5 separate regions of the Homo sapiens genome follow, and all the other regions are linked to region 1. The links are contacts of gene promoters, found by promoter capture Hi-C in blood cells and fetal thymus (Javierre and others, 2016). All regions are on one chromosome and are shown on one strand. Each heading gives the region's core, a stretch centred on a gene start or on the middle of the fragment in contact. The rest is flanking DNA. Distances are from core to core; before and after follow the strand shown.

Evidence for each region. Contacts are between HindIII fragments. The CHiCAGO score rates a contact against its expected background, and 5 or more counts as called.
Region 2: a fragment that was not itself captured here is called in contact with the fragment with the promoter of CSNK2A2 in region 1 in 3 of 17 cell types (activated CD4 T cells, naive CD4 T cells and fetal thymus); the score reaches 5.4 in activated CD4 T cells.
Region 3: a contact is called between a fragment that was not itself captured here and the fragment with the promoter of CSNK2A2 in region 1, in 4 of 17 cell types (activated CD4 T cells, naive CD8 T cells, fetal thymus and 1 more). The highest score is 6.2, in activated CD4 T cells.
Region 4: the fragment with the promoter of SETD6 here is called in contact with the fragment with the promoter of CSNK2A2 in region 1 in 13 of 17 cell types (activated CD4 T cells, M0 macrophages, M1 macrophages and 10 more); the score reaches 8.4 in activated CD4 T cells.
Region 5: a contact is called between the fragment with the promoter of SLC38A7 here and the fragment with the promoter of CSNK2A2 in region 1, in 16 of 17 cell types (activated CD4 T cells, total B cells, naive B cells and 13 more). The highest score is 16.9, in activated CD4 T cells.

The regions. Positions count from the first base shown.
Region 1 is chr16:58,196,243-58,199,825 of GRCh38, forward strand. CSNK2A2 (casein kinase 2 alpha 2) reads right to left here and starts at 1,864. Exons shown (of 12, transcript NM_001896.4): 1 at 1,391-1,864; 2 at 491-602. The coding sequence starts at 1,494. It also overlaps the pseudogene RN7SL645P. RefSeq lists silencers at 1,298-1,367, 1,768-2,037, 2,088-2,217. The HindIII fragment of the contact is 2,827 bases long and covers 395-3,221 here.
Region 2 is chr16:57,755,691-57,759,143 of GRCh38, forward strand. KATNB1 (katanin regulatory subunit B1) reads left to right here. Exons shown (of 20, transcript NM_005886.3): 17 at 151-227; 18 at 302-376; 19 at 666-782; 20 at 1,124-1,554. The coding sequence ends at 1,256. It overlaps KIFC3 (kinesin family member C3), which reads right to left. Exons shown (of 20, transcript NM_001130100.2): 19 at 3,435-3,453; 20 at 2,527-3,219. Among named protein-coding and RNA genes, the nearest start is that of MIR6772, 15 kb to the right of the region's middle. RefSeq lists enhancers at 1,299-1,938, 1,527-1,821 and a silencer at 1,620-1,769. The HindIII fragment of the contact is 2,219 bases long and covers 352-2,570 here.
Region 3 is chr16:57,738,389-57,741,483 of GRCh38, forward strand. The region is part of intron 2 of KATNB1 (katanin regulatory subunit B1); the gene reads left to right. Among named protein-coding and RNA genes, the nearest start is that of KATNB1, 4.2 kb to the left of the region's middle. The HindIII fragment of the contact is 6,249 bases long and covers 1-3,095 here.
Region 4 is chr16:58,514,142-58,517,708 of GRCh38, forward strand. SETD6 (SET domain containing 6, protein lysine methyltransferase) reads left to right here and starts at 1,376. Exons shown (of 8, transcript NM_001160305.4): 1 at 1,376-1,423; 2 at 1,650-1,956; 3 at 2,061-2,202; 4 at 2,337-2,531; 5 at 2,667-2,787. The coding sequence starts at 1,397. It also overlaps a transcript of NDRG4 not described here. RefSeq lists enhancers at 1,051-1,220, 2,261-2,430, 3,080-3,249 and a silencer at 1,341-2,000. The HindIII fragment of the contact is 14,988 bases long and covers 187-3,567 here.
Region 5 is chr16:58,683,315-58,686,431 of GRCh38, forward strand. It overlaps SLC38A7 (solute carrier family 38 member 7), which reads right to left and starts at 1,456. Exons shown (of 12, transcript NM_018231.3): 1 at 1,403-1,456; 2 at 641-864. RefSeq lists enhancers at 828-1,672, 1,183-1,242. The HindIII fragment of the contact is 5,837 bases long and covers 1-1,513 here.

The DNA of each region.
Region 1 (3,583 bases), core at 614-3,113:
CTGCACATTTTCTTGAAAGTTCATGGGAAAATGGGGTGGAAAAAGAAGTAATGAAGGGACATCAGATAAATAAAATTTGAGCGTCGGCTGGGCACAGTGGCTCACGCCTCTAATCCCAGCAACTATAGGAGGCCTGCAAGGAGTCCTTTTGGAGGACTGCTTGAGCTCAGGAGCTTAAGACCAGCCTGGGCAACATGACCAGACCCTGACTCTACAAAAAAATTTTAAAAATAGCTGGGCGTGGTGGCATGCACCTGTAGTCCCAGCTACTTGGGAGGCTGAGATGGATCACTGGAGCCCAGGAGTTGAAGGCTGCAGTGAACTATGATCTGCACTCCAGCCTGGGTGACAGAGTGAGACTCTGACTCTAAACAAATAAATTAAATTAAATTCAAGCTTGCATTGCCCATTATAGAATGTGACTGGGGTACCTTACAAACTTTTGCCCTGTGGGGAGGAAAATGTTACATACCACTCATAGGACACTCACCTTCAGGATTTTTACAACCACTCTCTCATTGTTGGTGATATTAATGGCCTCAAATACTTCACTATATTTTCCCCGACCAAGTTTTCGAACCAGTTGGTAATCATCTTGATTACTGTAAAAGGAAGACACACACATAAATGCCAGGACTGGGGGTTAACCAAGCCTATGCCCACTGTACACGTCATTCAGCCGCTTCCACCAGGCAAACACTTGGAAGTGTCTATACATCACGTCACAACTCATTCCCTAAATGAAAGCCACGACATAATCTTGGCTCCCTTCACTCTGCAGAGCTCCTAACCTAATTGGTCTCTCCTAACTTGGGAAGATGGGGCAGGAAGGCAACGCTCTGAGCCAATCCAGAGGGGCGAGCAAAGCACCCGTCCTGAAGGCCTAGAGGGTGCCCCCTGTGCCCCGCGGCTCCCCAGCACCTGCTTCTCGTTTCACATCTTCAAGGTAGACAATGCCTGTTTTAAAAATCTGGACGTCTTTAAGAAATTTCCTCCCACCACCTCATCTCAGAAAACCTAAAAGGCAGGGCATTTTAATAGCTCCAAAGGACAGCTGTTGACTTCCCACCCCAGTGGAAACCCAGAAGTGTGAGGAAGGGCAGCTCCCTCACTTCCACCCGGCGTCGATCCCTGGACCCCACACTTCTCCCCGAGTAAAAAAGCATTCCTTGGGGGAAAGGGGTGCGCAAAGCGGGGAGAAAGGGACGAAACGGGGGTAAAGGGGAGGGAAGAGGAAGACGAGGACATGTGCGAGAGCGGGACCTCTGCCTCCCTGCGGGCCCGCGGAGGGGTCGGCGGGAGACACCACCGGGCCCGAGTGCGGTTCGCAGGGGGTGGCCGGGCGGGGGCAGGGATCAGCGGGCCCGGCGGGGGGCGGCGACGGCTTTACCCCCAGCTCGGGACGTGAGCCTCGTAGTCCCAGTACTCGCGGCTCCTCAGACTGTTCACCTCGGCGTAGACCCGGGCCCTGCTGCCCGCGGCCGGGCCGGGCATGGCGGGCGGGACCGGGGGGCGGCGCGGGGCGCAGAGGGTGGCGGCGGCGGCGCGGCGGGGGACGCGGGGCGTCGGGCGGAGGAGGCAGCGGGCCGCCGGGCGCTGGAGGAGGAGGAGGAGGAGCGCGGCGGCGGGCGGCCGCGCCAGGCCGGGCCCGCGGGGGCGGGCGGGCTGGGGGCGCGGGGGGCGCCGGCCGAGCCGGCCCGGCCCTGGAGCGGCCGGCGGGGCGGCGGGGCGGGCGGCGCTCGCGCTCCGCGGCGGTCTCCGCTCGGCTCGCGGCCCCCAGGAGGCGGCGGCGGCGGCACCGGCAGCGGCAGCCACCGGCCGGGAAAGGGGCAGCGGCGGCGGCAGCGGAGAAGAAGGAGGAGAGGAGGAGGAGGCGGAGGAAACCCGGAAAAGGGGCCGCGCTCACTGGGAGCGGCCGCCGCCCGGCCTGGGGCCGCCCAGGCTCACAGCGCCCCCTGGAGCGCGGGGGGACCCGCCGGGCGGTGCCGGCCCCGCCCCGGCCCCGCCCCGGCACGCCCCGCCGCCTACCTCGCGCCCTCCGCCACCCTCGCCCTCCCGCCGCCACAGGTCGGACTGTCCAAATCGCCTCACCCTCGGGCTGGCTTGACTTCACGCCACAGGAGCCCCCCCTTCCACTGGCCGTTGCCCTAGAGCCCTCGCCCGCGACTCCCGACCCTTTCACTGTCCTTGGAGACCCTATCCCCAGCCCTGCACTCACCCAGCTTTTACCCACCCAACACATCCCATACTGACCCTATTCTGACCCTCCTGTCACCCAAACTGTCAAGTCCCTCCCCAGGGCCTCACTCAAACCTCAGAACCTCCCCCACCTCAATACTTCTCCCTTCCCCCGAGACATACCCCTCCTTCCCCCTCTGGACCCTGCCCTGTTAGGGTAGACTCCTCAGTCCCCAAGGCTTCCTACCCCCGTCATTCAGAGTGCTCCTCACAAAACCTTTCTACACTTCCCCCAAATGCCCTTCCAGAGCCTTCCCTGAATATCCACTTTGGTCACTTGGTTAAGCTGGCATTGACCAGGTTGTGCCACTGCAAAGTTACAATTTTTCCCTTTGTGATTAATAAGTCATTTGTGGGGAGAGACTTTGAGAGTGTAAATCTCCTGTTTGTGTTTAGGAGGAGGGAGAGCAGGAGAATTGCAAATCCGACCTGAAGGGACAGGCTGGGTTGGGGATGTGCCCAGAGTAGGTGGTCAACTGAGCTGGCCTGGCTTCCAGTGCTGCCTGCAGCCTTGAACACCCTTCTCCTTTGATCTTCTAGGCCTTTCTTCTGTCTTCCTTTCCCATCCCTCATCCTTTATCGACAGCACCTCTGCACCCAGTACAGGTTGCTTTCATTCCAGTCCCTTTTCACATTCTGTTTTCTGGATGAAACCCTGGGCCTTCCTGCTTGACACAGCTAAGAGCACAGTCTGTGGAGTCAGATCTATCCAGCACTGCTACTTAGAAGCTGTGTGACCTTAGGGCAATTACTCAACCTCTCTGTGTCACAGATTCTACAGCATAAAACCAGTAATAACGCTCACTTCACAGGGCTGCAAGGAGAATTAAACAAGGTAAACCATGTGAAACACTTAGGATGGTGTTCACTATTAGGATAGCATGTGTTCAATATGATTATTTCCAGGCCTAGGGCCTTTCTCTGCTCATTCCTCCCTCCCTGAGACCACCGTGCATCCGTCTTTTGGTTCCTTCTATCCTCCAAGCTTAACTAGGAGCCACCCCCAACCCCTCCACCCCACCTTCCCAAGGGTGTCTCCTTTTTCCTATTCAAATTTCACCTTTTTCTTTATTAGTAGTATTTTTTTAGAAATAGGGTGTCTCTATATTGCCCAGGCTGGAGTGCAGTGGCTATTCACAGGCATGATCCCACTACTGATCCGAACAGGAGTTTTGACCTGCTGTTTGCCACCTGGCAACCTGGTGGTCCTCCAGCCCCAGGAGGTCATCATAGTTGATGCCAAACTTAGTGTGGACACCTGATTGGCATTGCACACTACAGCCCAGAACTCCTGGGCTCAAACGATCTTCCCACCCCAGCCTCCTGAGGAGTTGGGACTACAGGC
Region 2 (3,453 bases), core at 211-2,710, 440 kb before region 1:
CCTGGCCTTACACTCATTGCGTTAGGTGCAGTGCTGAATACCCACAGCCCCATCAGCACACCCACATTCACGTTCGTACCCCCACCCTCACCCTCACAGGGCCACACTGTCCCCCACTGCCCCACCCCTGACGGTGCTCTGTTTGCACAGACGTCGGTGGACTCCGCTGTGGCCATCAACGACCTGTCGGTGGTGGTGGACCTCCTGAACATCGTCAACCAGAAAGCGTAAGTGGCTGCAGAGGGGGAGTGGGCGGAGGGGCAGGGCTGGGCTGATGGCAGCATGTCCTGGCCTCTCCTAGCTCCCTGTGGAAGCTGGACCTGTGCACCACCGTCCTGCCACAGATTGAGAAGCTTCTGCAGAGCAAGTATGAGAGGTGCGTGTGGGGAAGCCATGCCTGCCTGAAGCAGGGGGAGGGGAGAGGTAAGAAGCCTCCTCCAGAACCATGGGAAGGACCCCCAAGAGCCTGGGTGTTCCTGTGAGCTGGCTGTGAAGCATTGCTGCCCCTCAACAGTCCGGAGGTGGGAGTGGAAACAGGCGTGTGTGGGTGTATGTGTGGGTGTGTCTGTGTCTGTTTCTGCCCCTCTCCTCCTTTGTTCCTTGCTGTTTCTCTTTCTGTCTGTGGCCCTTGGTCCATCTGTGACTTCATCCATCTCCCCCTAAAGCTACGTCCAGACGGGCTGCACCTCCCTGAAGCTGATCCTGCAGCGGTTTCTGCCCCTCATCACAGACATGCTGGCGGCCCCACCCTCTGTGGGTGTGGATATCAGCAGGGAGGAGAGGTGAGGGCAGCGCATGTGTTGGGGGCAGGGGTGCCACAACAGGTGAGGGGACAAAGGCCTGGAGGCCTGGGCCCCTCTTACTGACAGTCCTGCTGGGACAGAGTACAGAGGAGGCGTTGGTCTGGGGCCATGGCTCAGGGTGTGGGTGGGCTTAGCCAGAGCTGGGTTCCTCCATGGCCTGGCTGTGCCCACAATCCCTGGCAGGGCCTGGGTGGTTCCCCTCTGGGCCTCCGCCTTCCCTTGGGAGGAAGGGCTGGAGCAGTTAGGACAGCAAAGGCCCTGGGGTTGGGTGTGGGTGGTGGTGGTGCCAGCTAGCCCCTCAGGCACTGCCCTCTCTACAGGCTGCATAAGTGCCGGCTCTGCTACAAGCAGCTTAAGAGCATCAGCGGCCTGGTCAAGAGCAAGTCAGGCCTGAGCGGCCGCCATGGCAGTACCTTCCGCGAGCTGCACCTGCTCATGGCCAGTCTGGACTGAGGAAAGCAGTGGGCAGGGGCGCTCGGCAGCCCACAGGGCCTGGCCTCAGCCCCCACTCCTGTTCCTTGTGCACCCACTGGCCCATGAGCCTCTGCCTGGCCCCTGCTGCTGTCCTGTGGCCGTCCTGGAGGAGGTGATGCTGGTCCCTGGCCACCTCTACAGCCCTGAACTCTTGAGACAACTCTCTCCAGCAATAGCTGCCCAGCTTTGCCCAACTGTTGCTTCTTGGGGCAGCGAACTGAGCCCTGGGGCTGCTGCTGTAATTTATAAGGCAAATTTTATTAAATTTGTAACTATTCCCAGGTTTCCTTGTGGGGAATGTTTTCTGCTGGCCACAGGGCTCCCCGGGCCCAGGAGTGCCTGCCCCATGGTTTGAGATGAGGCCACACCCCCTCCAAGCCCGGGGGTGGGGCTCTGGGCCATGTGGCCAGCAGGGGGCAGCAGAGAATCAGGCCTCTGGGACAGCACCAGTTCAGCCAGTGCAGACTGGGAAGGAAGGGGAGGCGGCAACCACCCTTCCACCACTGGGTGTTGAGGTTAGGGGTGGCCCCCACCAGCCCGTTCCTCCCCACCTCAGCTACACTCAAGCTGTCTTATGGACACCCCCAGGATGCCTCCAGGGGCAGGACTAGAAGGGCACCTGCCCCTTCCTCTGAGCAGGGCTCCGATCAGCTGTCACTCCCTGCTGGAGTCCCCAGCACTGGCTGGCGGGAAAGGGCTCCCTGCTCCGTGGGCACTGCGACAGGTGGGCCCCCTCCTGCTCCCAAGGCAGGGACCAGGTACAGCCCCGCCCCGGGGTGGTCAGGGTCCTCGGCACTGGAGGAAGGTGGCGTGGACCTCTGGCCAGTTCACTGAAGAGGGAAAAGGCCAGGGCAAAGAGTGGGCAGTGGGTGGTGCCCAGCAGTAACCTGGAAGCCCAGCATGGTTTGGGCAAGGCTTTGATAGCCTTTGAAGCTCTCTCCAGCCTTAGTTTCCTTCCCATCAGTAACATGGAGGAATGCCCCTGTTGGGAGGTCAGTTATCGTGGGCACATGGTAGGTACCGCATGAGGCGACTGTGACCACAAACAACAGAGAAAGTGACCCAGGGTGGGACAGCGCAGGCTCCCCCCAGTTGTTTGTTAAGGACGCATGTCCCTAACTGACCTAGAGGACAGATCCCAGAGGGCTGTGGGGTGACCAGCCAGCGGGGGAGTCCACAAGACCTGCCAGTGCCCCGTCCCCCTAATCAGACCAAGAGGGGCTCACAGACCAACTTTTTCAGACCATACTTGTGTAAAAAGGCTTCTTTTATTTTAATAAGTAAAAATGGCTAAGCTTCCAAAAGTTCTTAAATAGGATTTCAGAGGGAAGAAAATTCGAGAGACCAGCGAGCCAGGCAGGTGAGCGAGCAGCAGAATCCCCCACCCGCTGGCTGCCTCTGCCAGCCATAAACACAGCACGGCCCCGTGGCGGGAGGCCATGCGCCTCCGCACACCCCCCAGCTGCGGGAACCCTCCTTGAAGGAGAGGGGCGGGGAGGGCTGCCATTGGTGCCACCAACCCACCCCAGTCCCCATGGTTCTTGGGTCTGCCCAGAGGCTCCTCGCCCACCCCCTAAGGAGGGGGCTGGCCAGCTCTGCAAGCTGAGGAGAGGGGCCGAGAAAGCCTGGGTGAGAGGCCCACCCTCCTCCACACTCCCGCCCTCCTCACGGGGCCCAGTTCGCTGATGGCCCAGGCCTGCCAGGAAGAGCAGCCACCCCCGCCTTTCCGCCCATGCAATTTGCACTCAGAGCCACAGCCGAGAGACACCGTTTCCTTCTGAACATGTTTCTCATCTTTGAGGGGAGACGGGGCAGAAGAAGAGCCTCCACTCTCGCCTCTACCTCCGGGGGTCCTGGCGCTGCAGCAGGGACAGGCCAGTGAGGGCCCAGCTTCAGGCCCAGCGGGGTCACATCCGTCACACAGGCAGTGGCCGCGACTTCCCTGCAGGGGCATGAGATCATCAGCCTCTTGTCCACTTGCCCACCGGCAGCCCACAGCAGTTGCCACCGAGAGCAGGAGGGAACCCAGCAAAAGCACATAGACAAGCGACAGCAGGGGCTAGACCCAGCTCTGAACAGCAGAACGTCCCAGCGCAGCCCTGCAACCCACTGCGGGCAGGCAGGCGGGCAGCCCTGGGCCACAGGCCCCACACTCACCTAGAGACTCTGCAGCCCC
Region 3 (3,095 bases), core at 87-2,586, 460 kb before region 1:
GGGATCACAGGCACCCGCCACCACACCCGGCTAATTTTTGTATTTTTAGTAGAGACGGGGTTTCACCATGTTGGCCAGACTCGTCTCGAACCCCTGACCTCAGGTGATCCACGTGCCTCAGCCTCCCAAAGTGCTGGGATGACAGGCATGAGCCACCATGCCTGGCCAAGACTCCACACTTTTTAACCATGAATTTAACCATAAGACTCTGGGCAAAGCTCTTTGCAGGGCCTCTGTTTCCTTGTTTGTAAAGTGAGAGGTTTGGGCCATTTTCATGTTGTTCCCCAAAACTCTAGGGCTCTGGGAGAACCCTGTTATGGTTCCCCAAGGAAGGCACACTTTGGTCAGAGTGGCTTTGTAATTATTGGGATTACGTATTCATCCCTTCGACAGCTGGCCTTTCCCCAGAGCTAGGCACTGGGGAGCCACTGGGGGACAAAGTAGTCAAGGTCTCTGTACAGCGGGAGCTCAGAGCCTGGGGAGAGCAACAGGCAGGAACTGGATAACCGTATCCCTCTGTGTCTCCTCTAGTTGCAAGCTGGTGCCTGTGCTTTGAATCAGTTAGCTGGGGGGTAGGGGTAGGGGTGGGGTGGGAATGCTGCAGGCTGCATGAACAGCAAGTGCAAAGGCCCTGAGGCAGGAGGCTCAGTGTATTGGAAGGACTCAAGGGAGGCCATGGGCAGTGGCACAGCAGCAGGAGGAATGTGGGGCCGCACGGACCTACTGAGTTCTCAGGACCCCAGCCCTCCTGAGGCTGCCGTGCTTTATCATAAAGGCAAGGCCAAGCCATCAGTGTGTGCGAGCAGGAGGTAATGAGATCAGGCGTATTGGGCATCTGCTGCTGCTGCTGATTTCATGTGCACGGTGGTGTCCGTGGGAATCAACTCTGAAGAGCCCAGGGCCACGTGACCTCTGGCTCCTTGTGGCTCCAGGGTCTGGTGAGGATCAGAGGTGCGTGGCCCACATGAGGTCGTTGAAACCTAGTACTTTGTATCTTGCATTTGGGATGCTGATCCTCAGCCCCTCTGGCCACGCCGCACCATGTTCCCCAGCTTTGGCTGGATGTGGGGCCCAGGTTGTACTCCCAGAGCTTGGCCTGCCAGTAGACACTGAGGATTTTTATTTTTTATTTTTGGTATGAAAATCAAGTATTCGGCCTGGGCTGTTGGTTGCTGTCCAACAAGCCAGGATGAAGGAGGAGCTCTTGGGGTGGTGCCCCGTGCCTCCTTTGCAGGTGCCTGTGCTGTGTCCCTGCCCCTCTGCCCTCCCTCTGTGGGCTCCAGTCAGTCCCTGGTCAGGCTGCTTAGAGGGGAGTGATGTGGGCTCCTCCAGAAGGGCCCAACTTCTAAATCTTTCTCACTCCAAAGTCTGCGGTTTTGCCAGCTCAGTGTCCCGCCCCCACCACCATCTGATTATACTGGGGCATATTTCGTGCAAGGCCTAGAACAGGCACCCAGGAAATACTGATATTATGAATGAATGCCCCTGACTCCAGGGGCAGCAGTCCTGAGGCCCAGTGAGGTGGGGCCCAGCCAGACACTTTCCCTGGGAGGAGTGAGGGCCAGGGGACAGACAGAGCCCTCCAGGTAGGCCAGGGGGAGCGAGCAGTGCCTCCACGGAGAGGACACCAGGCTCGGGCACGGAATGCCAGGGAGAAGGTGCTTTGCCCTCTTTCTGGGTCAGGTGGAAACCTTGAACAGACACGTCTGTGGCTGGAATTCCTCAGGTTTCTGTCCCGACAGTGTCCAGAGGACAGAAGGCTCTCATCGAGACGGGACTAAAGTGGGGCCCAGCTCCCTGGGATCCCCATGGCGAACTCCCAGCGCCCTGGCCCAGGTTTGGGCCCACAGGGAACCCTCGCCCTTGCTGGCGCTGCTGCCTGTGCTGGCTCTGCCCCGACCGGCCCAGGAGGCAGGGTGTCATCAGTGAGATTCAGCCTGCGACTTGTCCCCTGGGTATTCCTGGTGGCCCCTTGGAGCCCAGGTTTCTGGCAAGCAGCTTCCCTGGGCCCAGTTTCCCAACCTCCTTGTGGTCTGAAGCCCGCAGCAGAGACACCCAGGCAGGGTGGAGTCGGAGCTGGGGTGCAGGAGGGGCCTCTGTGGAGCGCCGTGGCTCCAACACCCTTTTCCTTGGCGTCACCCACGCTGGCCTTCCGGGTGCCTCGGGGCGTCAGCACCTTGGGGTTTTCCCCTGGCCTGTGTGGGGAGAACTGTCTTTTTTCTCCCTTCTTTCCAGGAGGAGCTCATGCAGGGATGGGTTCTGAGGCCCGGGCCGCCTCTTGGTTCCCTGCCTGTGCTTTGCTCCCTGCGGAGTCCTCCGAGGCTCCTGTCTGCCATCTCCACGGACCAGGCCAGGGCCTTGGGCTGTCTGCACAGGCTCCTCCTCTGTGTGGTCAGCCCTCACCCCCACCCCAGCTGCTCAGTCTGTTGCCTCCTGCCCCCTCCTCATGAAGCCCACCCTCTGGTGCCCGCCCAGGCCCCCATGCCCACTCTCTCATGGTGACTAGCCCCGAGCCTGCCCAATGTCACGGAGCCCTCGCCTGCTACTAAGCAGCACGTAGGCGCGCTCTGAGGGAGTCCTCAGCATCAGGTGTGAGCAGACACCACGGGCATCCCCACTTTCCAGACGAGGAGCCAGGCCCTCAGAGGACAAGTGACCTAGTAGCCAAGGCCACGCAATAGCAGATCACAGACCTCAGACCAGAACCTGATCCGTGATTGTGAATCTGAGCCGAAGCCCTGTGCAGGCTTACCTGGGGGCAGCTTGTCTAGAGGTGACTTCGGTTGTTCTTAAAGTGTGTTCTCCAAAGCAGGGTTTGTATGTACACACAAGCAGCAGCTGAGAGGTGTGTAGGCAGTGCATGGGTCAATTTTTTTTATTTCAATAATTGTTTTTCTTTTTGTATCATAGAAAGAGTATCATGAGTATATCAAACTTGTAATTTCATGGACATTGCTTAAGCCCAAGCTAATAAAAATAGCAAGTCAATTTTAAAAATTGCGTATAACTAGTCAATATTACCAGGTGATATGCAGAAACAGGAAGAAAATCGTGAAGTCTAAAGGTAGGAAAGACAGGCATGATGAAAGTTGAGA
Region 4 (3,567 bases), core at 126-2,625, 320 kb after region 1:
ATCTATAACCAGATATACTTATCCCTAAACTTTGATATGATTTTACACATACTAAATCTTCACCTATGTATAACCTAAACTAAAATACCGTGTTAGAGGAGCCTCACAAGATTACTCCTGGGCTACAGGCCTCAGTCTATAGTCCTCAATAAGGCTTCTAAATAAAACTAATTTTAATTATTTAAAAGCTTAATATTTTTTCTTTAGTCAACATACCAATCCTTACATTAATTCTACAGAGTAGGTATTATCTTAGTTTCGCAGGTGAGGAGACTAAGGTTCAGGAAAAAGGATTTGCCTGAGTAACAGACCAGGCCGCGCGCGGTGGCTCACGCCTGTAATCCTAGCACTCTGGGAGGCCGAGGCGGGGGGATTGCCTGAGCTCAGGAGTTCGAGACCAGCCTGGGCAACGCGGTGAAACCCCGACTCTACTAAAAATAAACACAAAAAATTAGCTGGGCATGGCAGCGTACGCCTGTAGTCCCAGCTACTTGGGAGGCTGAGGCAGGGGAATTGCTTGAACCCGGGAGGTGGAGGTTGCAGTGAGCCGAGATCGCACCACTGCACTCCAGCCTGGGCGAGACTCCCGTCTCCCCAACGCGCCAAAAAAAAAAAAAAAAAAAAGGAAAAAAAAAAAAAACTGAGTGTTGAGCTGCGGCGTTGCTTGGCTTCAAAACCCATTCCTGTAACCTCTATATTCACAGCCTCATTTTCTTACATTTAACAGCATGCTACTTCCCCAGGTTTAACCACCATTTGTTTTATTCATTTATTTACCCAATAGGTAGATATTGAGTCCCTACTATGTCAGCTAATAAAACCCACCACGTGCTATGCAGCAGATTAAAAACGAGGATGTACTGGCAAATAAGGGCAGAGAGGATCTATTCTAGATCCAGGAGCCCTCTAGGCCACGCCACTCTGAAACACACACGAAAACTGCTCTGAACGAATACCACCAGTAAAAGGGTTCCATGGCCATCGGCAACAAGGGGTCGAGATCAGGAGGTCGCTCGCCGCCCAGTTGCGTCGCTCACCACCGGCCGGCCACCAGACCCTCGGCTTCCGATCCAGAAACCGTATTTTGTTCTTGCACCCAGACCGCAAGAAGCCTCAGCCCTCGGGGACAGACCGAAGGCCAGGGCTGTACCTGGCTCAGAACCAGGCGCCAAGCGGCACGGGACTCTCCTTCTGCACTCGCAGCGCGTGAGTGCAATTGGAGATCCTGGACTCAAGATGTTTTCATGAGGAACGATTCCAGCCCGCGGTAACTCCGGCCAGTCTGCAGCGTGGACGACAAAACAGGCACCACGTGGTTCCGGCGCCGGGGCGGGGCCAGAGACGCCGGAAGTGACCGCGCGGTGCGCCGGCCCGCGAGGAAACGCGCTCTTAGACCATGGCGACCCAGGCGAAGCGTCCACGGGTGAGTGGCGGGCGCGGGGTCCAGCCTTTTCCTCCGCGCCTCACCCCTTCTCCGTTCGCAGAACCGTCCGCCTGCGCCCCCTCCGCTCCCTCCCGCGGGTCCCGCGCCCCTCTCCGCTCGTCCCCTCCTCCACCCAAAGCCCGTTCTGCGCTCGCGCCGCGGTCTCCTGCAGTTCCCAGCGGCCTCTCTGGGGGTCGGACCTGGTCACTGCGCGCACTTATCTCAGGTGGCGGGGCCCGTGGACGGCGGCGACCTGGATCCTGTGGCCTGCTTCCTGAGCTGGTGCCGGCGGGTGGGGCTGGAGCTGAGTCCCAAGGTGAGCGAGCGAGCCGGCGGGCGGAGGACCCGCGGCGGGGCGCGGGCTGCCCTGACCAGCCCTCCTGCTCAGGTGGCGGTCAGCCGGCAGGGCACGGTGGCCGGCTACGGCATGGTGGCCCGGGAGAGCGTGCAGGCCGGAGAGCTGTTGTTCGTGGTGCCGCGGGCCGCGCTCCTGTCGCAGCACACCTGCTCCATCGGCGGCCTGCTGGAGCGAGGTGGGCACGGCGGCGGGCTAGGGCCCTGGGGCGGGGCGGGGCGGGGCGGGGCGGGCCCGGCCCGCGAGGCCGCGCCGGGGCGCTCACACCTGTGTCTTCCTCAGAGCGAGTTGCGCTGCAGAGCCAGTCGGGCTGGGTGCCACTGCTGCTGGCGCTGCTCCACGAGCTGCAGGCCCCGGCCTCACGCTGGAGGCCCTACTTTGCGCTCTGGCCCGAGCTGGGCCGCTTGGAGCACCCGATGTTCTGGTGAGAGCCTTGGGAGGGGTTGGGGAGCGCCTGCACCGTAGCCTGCTGCAAGAAGTTTCCCCGCCCCTGCACCAGTCCTACCCAGTAAAGTGTGTGAAGGAATGAAGGGAACCTGGGTGTGGGTGTCCCTGCAGGCCAGAGGAGGAGCGCCGGTGCCTGCTCCAGGGCACAGGCGTACCTGAGGCCGTGGAGAAGGATTTGGCCAACATCCGCAGCGAGTACCAGTCCATCGTGCTGCCCTTCATGGAAGCCCACCCCGATCTCTTCAGCCTCAGGGTTCGCTCCCTAGAACTCTACCACCAGCTGGTGGCCCTTGTGATGGCCTATAGGTCAGTGGGTGGGGCCTCTGAGGACGGAACCCTTTTCTTTACAACTCTATAGAGGGACAAAAGTGGAAAAACAGTGAAATCCACCCCCAGTCCCTCACCCAAGACAGGGCCTTAGCCAGGTTCTGTCAATGGCAGCTTTCAGGAACCACTGGAGGAAGAAGAGGATGAAAAGGAGCCCAACTCCCCCGTGATGGTGCCTGCTGCAGACATACTAAACCACTTAGCCAATCACAACGCCAATCTAGAATACTCTGCGGTGAGTGGAGTTTCTCTTGGTGCACTGATTGAGCATGATTCAAGCCATTGTGTCTTAGGCTCCATTCTCTTACTAGTGCTACAAAATGAGTAGGTGAAATCAGCTCCTCCTGTATGTCCTTTTAGTATGCATATTACTGTAGAATCATTTGAATGCGAAACATTTTAAAGTCCTCAAAGTAAGTTGTGGTTAATCCTCTGATAAACTATACTACCATCATTTATTTAGTGCTAGACATTGAGTGGTCTGCATAGCCATGTTTCATTCCTTTCTGGCTGATCACATCAGTGAGCCCAGACTGTGTGTGGCTCTGTGGATAGCAGCCTGGAACAGTGATAGTCTCCGTGTTTTGGAGGGATGAGGACATTCACAGGCCAAAGGTCTAAGACGATCCTAGAACTGATATAAAGCTGTGTTTATACCAGCTCTATTCTATATAAAAAGTAGCCTGAAAAGATGGCACATTTATAGGATCAGAAATTAGTAAGTATGGTTATTTCTTAATCCTTGCCTCCATTTTCCTTTCCCACTTTGATCTGCGAAAGTTCCATTTTTTCCCCCCCGAGGCGGAGTCTCACTGTGTCGCCCAGGCTGGAGTGCAGTGGCGTGATCTCGGCTCACTGCAACTGCCGCCTCCTGGGTTCAAGCAATTCTCCCTGCCTCAGCCTCCCGAGTAGTTGGAATTACAGGCTCCTGCCACCATGCCCGGCTAATTTTTGTATTTTTTAGTAGGGATGGGGTTTCTCCGTGTTGGCCAGGCTGGTCTTGAACTCCTGATCT
Region 5 (3,117 bases), core at 206-2,705, 490 kb after region 1:
GGACTACTTCCCATTGCTCCTCCTGATGATGGACAAACAAAGCTGGGGACCATCCACTCATGAGAGGGAAAGGGTGAAAGTTCATGTGCTCTCAGCCATCTGTTATCAAGCATGGAACCAAGGGACATGGCACCAGAGGAAACATTCCTCTGCTGGCTCGAAACCCAGAAAGATCTGTCAGATGTCACAGGGCTTACACATCCTCTTACACATCCTGTCACCCAACCAGCAACTCAGCAAAATCAAAGCAGTGAGCAGCGAAGGCAGAGTCTTGGGACTCCCAGGCTTCCAGTGTAGCTAGAGAAAGAACCCTGCAAAGTGACCACTGCCAGAGCTGTGACCATCTCCTCCCCGCTGCTCACGTCACAGAGACAGAGGTCTACAGAGTGATTCGTCCAAGGTCACAAGGCTTGGTGCGGCTTCCTGACTCTCCAACCAAAATGTTTCCCTTGGGCACCCCTGCCCGAGTCCTGCACCATCCTCCAGCCTCTCCTGCCACCCACATGAGAGTGCAGGCTGGGGTCCTCGTGGAACTCAGAAGCTGGGGGTCCCACCTCTTGCAGATTCTCTGCCTTGGTTAAGACCTCTCGGCACCCCCACTGCTCACTGGCAAATTACTCAGCTCATTGTTGCACCTTACCTGCTCTTTCTCCCTGATGGGCTGTGCCAGAGGCGGTTGCTCCTTCTCCCCAAAGGTCTGGGATCTGATTCTCCTCACTTCCCTTTCTGGACCCAATTTCTTCTTTCTCAAGACTTTGCCTAAAATTTGCTGTCAGCAGAGGGAAGAGTTTGGGCTACTTCTGTGCTGGCTTCAGCAGAGCTGGAGGAAACTGAGCGGCTCTCACGCTTACTCATGAAATGGAGCTTCAGGACAGATAGGAAAACAGGCCCAGGAGGGAGAGGTTAGACTAAGGTCACAGTGGGTAGCTGGCAGAGCCAGAATAGAAGCCTGATGCCCACATGCTCAGGCCAGCGATGTAGGCCCCTCAGATCCCAACTGGAGTGTGCTCCCAGTCCAGCCTGGGGTTGGAGCCCTGAGATAGAAAGGGTGGGCTGCTTTGTGAGGTGAGGCTTTGTGAGGTGAGCCAGGGCGCACCCGGGCCAGGAGGCCGGGGCGGGGCGATTCCCAGGCCTGGAGCGAGAAGGGTGGGCTACTGTGGGGTAACCTGGGGAGGAGCTCCGGGACCCGATCCCGGCCTAGGACTGGGTGGAGACCCTCTGGCTGGGTAAAGGCGCGGCAGAGCTGGCGCAACAGAGGGACGGGCGTGGGGCGAGGACGCCAGGATCTGGACCCCTGCAGGGAAAGGGTCTGAGCTTTTCCGCGGTGGCGGGGACTGAGGGGCTCCACAGACCTCGGGGATCTAACACTTCCACCCTCCAGAGCCTGTCTCCGGCCACCTACCTTGGGGGATTCTTTCCCGAGCCGGCTGCGGAGACACGTGAGCATGCATCACATGACGCCCGCTCGGGCGGCCGCGGGACACGCTGGGAGTTGTAGTTTCCGCAAATGTGAAGCTTGGACAACACCAGCTCCCTGAATCCTCAGCCCGACAGCACTGCCCTGAGCCAGCCTCGCGTCCAGCCAGCTCGTGTTTATCCTCTTACTTTTAGTCTTGGCCTCTTGACCAAATCAAACACTGCTCCTTCCTCCAAGGAAGAGCATTAGGAGGTCTGGCCTCTTTGCCAGTCCCGGTGGCGGTGGGCCAAAGCTGTTTGGCCTCATTATCCTCCCGGTCTCTGTCCTTGCCTTCACGCCCATGGCCAGAGCACTGGAGTTTTTTTTTAATCAGTAATGTGGGGGACCTGGAGCCACGGTCTTTCCTGCAAGGGAGTGGGCTGGGGGCATGGTTACGACCCCATCGGTTTAGACTCTAGAACAGTTTTTGAGGGATTGTAGGTGCTCAGTAAATATTTGTTGAATGACGAAATGGGCATCCAGTCCTGGTTCTGTTCTTGGCTGTGTGTCACTCATAAATTGTCACGTAATCTCCAGCATCCCAATAGCCTCATCTCTGTTTTGTGGATATGCTCTCCACTGCACTTACCTCTCCATGCATCAGAGGTCCTCACCGATGAGGACACACTGGGAATCCTTAGAAACCCAAATCACACCTTTTTTTTTTTTTTTTTTTTTTTTTTTTTTGAGACAGAGTCTCACTCTGTCTCCCCGGCTGGGGTGCAGTGGCACGATCTTTGCTCACTGCAACCTCTGCCTCCCGGGTTCATGTGATTCTCCTGCCTCAGCCTCCCGAGTACCTGGGATTACAGGCATGCACCACCACTCCCAGCTAATTTTTGTATTTTTAGTAGAGATGGGGTTTCGCCATGTTGGCCAGGTTGGTCTCAAACTCCTGACCTCAAGTGATCCACCCACCTCAGCCTCCCAAAGTGCTGGGATTACAGGCATGAGCCACCGTGCCTGGCCTCCAAAAAGTTTATATAAATTGAATCATACTGGTTGAGTGCGGTGGCTCACACCTGTAATCCCAGCACTTTGGGAGGCCAAGGCGGGCTGATCACTTGAGGTCAGGAGTTCGAGACCAGCCTGGCCAACATGGCGAAGTCCTGTCTCTATTAAAAATACAAAAATTAGCTGGGCATGGTGGTGCACGCCAGTAGTCCCAGCTACTCGGGAGCCTGAGGCAGGAGAATCACTTGAACCCGGGGGGCGGAGGTGGCGGTGAGCAGAGATCGTGCCACTGCACTCCAGCCTGGGAGACAGAGTGAGACTCTGTCTCAAAAAAAAAAAAAAAAATAGAATCATACTGTCTTAATCAGTTAAGGCCGCTATAACAGAGTATCATAGACTGGGTGGTTTAAACGACAGAGATTTATTTTTCACCGTCCTGGAAGCTGTCAAGACTGAGGTCAGAATGCCAGCAGAGTCAAGTTCTGGGGAGGACCATCTTCATAGTTTTCAGATGGCCATCTTCCTGCTGTGTCCTCACATTGCGGAAAGCAGAGAGGGAAAGTAAACTCTCTCTTATTTTTATTTATTTTATTATTATTATTATTTTTAGAGACACGGTCTCTGTTGCCCAGGCTGGAGGGCAGTGGCGCAATCACAGCTCACTGCAGTCGCCATCTCCCAGGCTCCACTAGTCCTCCCGCTTCAGC